Linked DNA regions of Homo sapiens: region 2 is linked to region 1. Evidence: promoter capture Hi-C in human tissues and cell types (Jung and others, 2019). All regions are on one chromosome and are shown on one strand. The core of a region is centred on a gene start or on the middle of the fragment in contact, and the rest is flanking DNA. Distances in the headings are between cores, read along the strand shown. Region 1 holds the start of HUS1B (HUS1 checkpoint clamp component B). Region 2 has its middle 35 kb from the start of LINC03066.

Region 1 (3,129 bases), core at 208-2,707:
TTGCATGGCAAATACTGTTCTAAATGCTGGGTGTACAGCAGTGTATGGAACAGATAAGAACTCCTCTAACTTACATCATTGTGGTTAGAGCTAGACGGCAAACAAAGAAGTCTAAGTATGTACTATATCAGGCTGGTGATAATTCCCATCAGAATTCCAGGAAGATTATTTTTAGACTCTGACAAAATATTTTAGAATTCATCTGGAGCAGTATCTGTGAGAGAATGAGAGAAGTTCTGAAAGATTGTCCTATTCGATATTGAAATATAATACAGAAATTAAATCACTGGTACAGGTTCAAGATAGGGCAGTGGGAGAAAATATAGAGAGGGCCAGGAAACATTCAAGCAAAAATGAGAATTTTTGTCTAAAACAAAATTGACATTTCAGGTTAGTGGAGAAGTGGATTGTTTAGTGAATTATGTGTATCAGCTAGGCATTCGGTACTCCAAAAAAGATTTCAACTGAGTCAAACAACTAAGTCATAAAAACAGATAACATTAAAGTACCAGAAACAGGACTTTGAAAGCATGACCCTAGAAGTAGTAGAGAAAAGGTCAATAGGTTTGACATGAAAATACTCAGTATTTCCCAAGGGCAAAGAATACCAAAAACAGTGTGAAAAGTCACATGATAAACTGGGGAAGATATTTACAGTACATGTAATGGACAGAGGGTTAATGTTCTTGCTAGATATCTTAAAATCAAGAAAAATAAACTCAGTAAAAAGATGCAAAGGGCATAAGATGGAATTCACACACAGTGCAAGTTGAATTTTTTTTTTTTTTTTTTGCCTGCCAGAGTGCTACAGGTAAAACAGATTGCTACTACCCAGTGTTGCTGGTGGGCTAGAGTGTTCATGTAGCTTTCTGCAGGCCAGTCTGAGAATATTTATTAGGATTTTAAAAGTGCATTCATTGACCAGCACTTCACTTCTGAATTTAATGCAAGGAAATAGTTGGGTAAATGGGCAAAACTATTTTGTACAAAAATATTCATTGTGTTCATAATAGCAAAAAATTGGAAATCATCCAAATGTCATTTGTGTTATAACTCCATACACTGGAAAAGTGAGCAGCCATGAAGATGGTGTAGATTTGTTTCACCAGCATGGAAAGGTGCCTGTTACATATTTAAGTGTGAAGATGAGGTTGTAAAATGTATGCCTGGTATGCTATGATTTCATAAGACACGTGGAACTATATCTTCTTATATGCCGATTGATGAAGATGGAATCAGTGTATATACCAAAGAGATTAAAAGTGGTTCTTTATCTGAGTGATGATTTTGTCTTCATTGTGTTTAGAATACTAAGAAGTTTCAGCAGTGGAATGCCTACTCTTCTTATAACCGGAGTGGAAACGGAAGCATTTTGTGAGAGGGCTGGAGGGAAGGTGAGAACGGGCGTTGGGAGGCCCTTCCGTGGCTCCAGGCCTAGGGCTGCGGAACCCACAACAGAACCCGCAACCGCAACCGGGAACCCGAGTGCCTGCCTAGCTGGGGGGCCGGAGGGAGGGCGGGGAGGGCAGCGCCACGGACCCCAGCGGACCGGAAGGGCTTGTGGCACGCGGAATCCCCCTCAGAGGCCCCCAGCTGCCTTCCCTGTGGCATCATGAAGTTTCGCGCCAAGATCACCGGCAAAGGCTGTCTAGAGCTGTTCATTCACGTCAGCGGCACCGTCGCGAGGCTAGCGAAGGTCTGCGTGCTCCGCGTGCGCCCTGACAGCCTGTGCTTCGGCCCCGCGGGTTCCGGCGGCCTCCACGAGGCCAGGCTGTGGTGCGAGGTGCGGCAGGGGGCCTTCCAGCAGTTTCGCATGGAAGGTGTCTCGGAAGATCTCGATGAGATCCACCTGGAGCTGACGGCGGAGCACCTGTCCCGGGCGGCGAGAAGCGCAGCGGGCGCGTCCTCCCTGAAGCTGCAGCTGACCCACAAGCGCCGCCCCTCCCTCACGGTGGCGGTGGAGCTGGTCTCGTCCCTGGGCCGCGCTCGCAGCGTGGTGCACGATCTGCCCGTGCGGGTGCTTCCCAGGAGAGTGTGGCGGGACTGCCTGCCGCCCAGCCTGCGCGCCTCCGACGCGAGCATCCGCCTGCCGCGCTGGAGGACGCTGAGGAGCATCGTGGAGAGGATGGCGAACGTGGGCAGTCACGTGCTGGTGGAAGCAAACCTCAGTGGCAGGATGACCCTGAGTATAGAGACGGAGGTGGTGTCCATTCAAAGTTATTTTAAAAATCTTGGAAACCCTCCCCAGTCGGCTGTGGGTGTGCCTGAAAACAGAGACCTGGAGAGCATGGTGCAAGTGCGGGTGGACAATCGGAAGCTTCTGCAGTTTTTGGAGGGACAGCAAATACATCCTACGACGGCCCTGTGCAATATTTGGGACAATACTCTTCTTCAGCTTGTTTTGGTTCAAGAAGATGTCTCTCTTCAGTATTTCATTCCTGCCTTGTAAAAATTCAGCCAGCTTAGATTTTTTTTTTAAGGTTTTGATCTTTTCAAAACTAAAACAGACCCTGAGTTAATTGGGTTGAAAATTTGGACCTTCACTGACTTATGCAGGGCGTATATTTTGTTGAGCCCTTCCTCCTTTGCAAAATTTATATTAAAGCATTGGTAAAACAGTTGGGTAGTTCATGTTTTGTTTATTGGGTTTGTCAGGTTTTTTTCCTGCTTAAGATTCTATCAAAGTTATTCTTCAACTCTTTTTTTCGGGGGGGAAAAACAGGGTTGTAATGAAATAAGTATTTTTGAATCCTGAAACAATTGCATCAGTATTTTATTATAAAATGCTGCTGTGTAAAGCGGGAAAGTTCTCCTTTTAAAATATGTATGAATGTTTTCCGAGGGCATTTCTTATGTAGAGAGCTAAATATATCTGCAAGATAAAAGGTATTTAGCATGTGTGTGCATTACATATTCTTTGTTAAGCCGTGTTCTGTATAGGATATGTCAAAGAATATATCAGTGTACATGGTTTTTAGATTTATTATCTACATAGTTTGAATTGCTTATTAGGTTCATTTTTCACATGTATCATATTCACATTAGAAATCAAGGAAATATAGGCATGTCTCAGAGATACTCCAAGTTTGGTTCCAGACCACTGCAAAAAGCAAATATTGCAATAAAGAC
Region 2 (3,129 bases), core at 292-2,791, 420 kb after region 1:
GATTTATAGGCATCACTCACATTTTCTTTCACGTTTCAAAATCCTTCACAATTTTTCATGACAAGTGAGTAAAGCAGGTCCCAGATACTATAGGATGCATCAGTCTTGGTCGTTTTACTATTAATTGAAACATATATTCCTCCTCCATTGCTCAGGGATGAGATAGCACTTTCCTTTAGAGCATTTTTTAAAAGATGCCCAAGGTGGATTATTCTAGCTGGGCGGTAGCTTGAGTGTGTGCAACAGTGGGGGCACTGTGAGGCTATTTGGAGGGAGTGGCGGTCACCAGAGAGAAGTTTCAGTGCAGCTGTGCACATGTCGACCAGAGCAGAGGGAGTGCTGTGCAGAGAGAGAAAAGTTAGCTGAGAAGGAGGAAAACTGATCTTGCTAATGACTGTGCCCTTAACCCGTGGCTTGTCTCCAATTTCAGAAGCAACAAATCCAAGAGTTTGTGCAGACAAGAAATGCTGCAGACTAGTCTCCCATGAAAAGGTGGGAGGTGAGGGAGGGATGAGAGGATGCTCTCTTTTATATATGTGATCTCTGCCCATCCTCACAGTAGCCCTGGGCAATCCTTATTCTAGAGAGAAGGAAACAGAGGTTCTGGGAACTCAGGATGCCACGAAGAGGCAGGATGTGCCCGCAGCTCATCTGGTTCTGATGCAAGCCGACTTTGCCCTCTGGCACAGGAAGCACAGGGTGCCTGGGACCCAGGCTGCATTCGGAAGCCTCAGAAATGCTTAATCTTGGCCGGGTGCAGTGGCTCAAGCCTGTAAATCTCAGCACTTTGAGAGGCCAAGGCGGGCGGATCACCTGAGGTCGGGAGTTAGAGACCAGCCTGACCAACATGGAGAAACCCCGACTCTATTAAAAATACAAAATTAGCCGGGCGCGGTGGTACACGCTTGTAATCCCAGCTACTCAGGAGGCTGAGGCAGGAGAATCGCTTGAACCTGGGAGGCAGAGGTTGCAGTGAGCTGAGATCGCACCACTGCACTCCAGCCTGGGCAACAAGAGCGAAACTCCGTCCCAAAAAAGAAAAAAAAAAAAAAAAGCTTAATCTTTATTCCTTTTAAAATCAGAAGAAAAATATACATAATAATCATGAATATATAATAATGAATCCCATCTCAATTACATCTGTCATTTTATCAGCGCAGCAGTAAAATACTTTTAAATATTTTTTATAGAGGAAGTTGCCCACAGGAGCGATGGTACCTCGGCTGCATCTCAGAGGTTCCGCCTGCCTATTCTGGAGCGCATGCCCTGGACCTGGTACCAGCCCCAGGTTTCCAGGAGTGGGAAACTGCTCGTCTACTCTACTCAGGTCATATTGATTTTCCTTGATTCCCTGCTCTGGAAAACACAGCTCCTGGAACTTGGTCCAAGAATAGGAATAGTTGGTCTGTCTTTAATGTTACTATTTTTTAACTCCTAGTCAAGTGCCACAGGGAAACAAGAAAAATGGGGCTATGGGATTGACTAAGGGAGTTTAACAAATGGCCTTTAAAATGACAAAGTGAGCTGGGCTCTGGAATGACAACAGTGGTAAGTTGGGAAGGCATCCCGCTGAGGCTCCTTGGCTCCCCAGCACCTGCCTGCTCCCTGGCTCAGTCTGCCTCACTCTCTGCTCTGGGCAAGGGTACCAGCCGAGCACCTCAAGAGCCTAGACCACGTGGAGGCTACATAGAGGTCCCAGGGAGAGGACATTATGTCACTCTTCTGAGATGTGAGCTCAAGAGGATGTTGGAGGCCAGAAGTTCTTGACTGGAGAGGAGGAGACTTAGATTCCTGCCTTGGCTCCCACACTAACTAGTTGTTTAATCCTTCAGTCCAGGCCAATTCATTTCTCTAAGCTTCCGTTTTCTCATCATAAAATGAGAGAGTGGATCATTCCAGCTCTAAGGTTATATGATTCTCAGGAGAAAAATGTGAAAGACAGCAACAGGTTAAAAAATATTTAAATGAGTTCGACGTTTGCCCCAATTTACCAATTGCCAACCACGTCTTCTCCCAAGGATGGCCCTATCAATCAACCCAATTCCAAAAACTGTCATGAGATTTTCCATGAAACTCTGTGTAACTGGGAGAGAATAAAGCACGTGCTAAACACGAATGCAGTGAAAATGGCGTGAGGCCAGGGAGGAACTGGGAAAGTCCAGTGGAATTCCCTGAGGATATGGGCAGGTGCCCGCCAGCGTTGCTGGAAGGGCTGTTTCTGAGGATAGAGGGTTAGTGAGCTGTAGCAGTTTCCAAGGCCAGGAGAGGGAGATTTTATTCAGCAGAAATAAAAGTGCTGGGAGGTGTACAATGACTTTCTTAACTTCATGGAAAGTACCATGGGAGTTCTATGACAGAAGCCAGGCTGTGGCCCTCGTCAAGGGTGGACTCAGAAGGAGGGAAACGATCGATGGCATTGTCAACAGCGTTCATTCTGAAGGCCCTTCATTTAAATTCTGGTAGCCATCAGCTCCTGACACCCAGTGATAACAATACCCTGCACTGGCCCATTGTCTGATTTTGATCTTTCAACAATCCCGAGGCAACTCTGAGATCTTGTAATTTTTGTCCCTCTGGAAGATGAGGGCCCACGTCCCACAGTGGTCAAAGATACACCTATAACCTCGTTCTCCAGCACTAGACCAGCAAGCCGAGTGAGGCGGTTACTTCTCTTCGTAGTTCCACAGTAAGGAGCTATTTCAACTTCATCTAATGAACTGCAGTCTTAGGGATGGACAAAAACCAGCCCTAGAATGACTAACAGGGCTGTGCCTCTGGTGCGTCTTCACTGCCACTCACAGTGGTAACTGCAGCGTATGGACAAGCATCTGCCTCTGACTGAGGAGACATTTATTCATAAAATAAGAGTGTGCCTTTGTGTCTTTTCTTTTCTTTTTTTTTGAGACAGAGTCTAACTCTGTCTCCCAGTGACACGATCTCAGCTCACTGCAACCTCCGCCTCCTGGGTTCAAGCAATTCTCCTGCCTCAGCCTCCCAAGTAGCCGGGACTATAGGTGCACACCACTACGCCAGGCTAATTTTTTTGTATTTTTAGTAGAGATGGGGTTTCACCATGTTGGCCAGGCTGGTCTTGAACTCCCAATCTCAAATGATCCGCCTGCCTCGGCT

Evidence for each region. The method cuts DNA at HindIII sites, captures the fragments that hold promoters and counts their contacts. A contact is called where the count stands out against the background at its distance.
Region 2: a contact is called between a fragment that was not itself captured here and the fragment with the promoter of HUS1B in region 1, in 1 of the 25 tissues and cell types used here (lymphoblastoid cells).

What each region holds. Positions count from the first base shown.
Region 1 is chr6:655,428-658,556 of GRCh38, reverse strand. It overlaps HUS1B (HUS1 checkpoint clamp component B), which reads left to right and starts at 1,457. Exons shown (of 1, transcript NM_148959.4): 1 at 1,457-2,618. The coding sequence starts at 1,613. The coding sequence ends at 2,449. The region is part of intron 1 of EXOC2 (exocyst complex component 2); the gene reads left to right. The HindIII fragment of the contact is 15,216 bases long and covers 1-3,129 here.
Region 2 is chr6:238,827-241,955 of GRCh38, reverse strand. No RefSeq gene overlaps it. Among named protein-coding and RNA genes, the nearest start is that of LINC03066, 35 kb to the right of the region's middle. The HindIII fragment of the contact is 4,073 bases long and covers 1-3,129 here.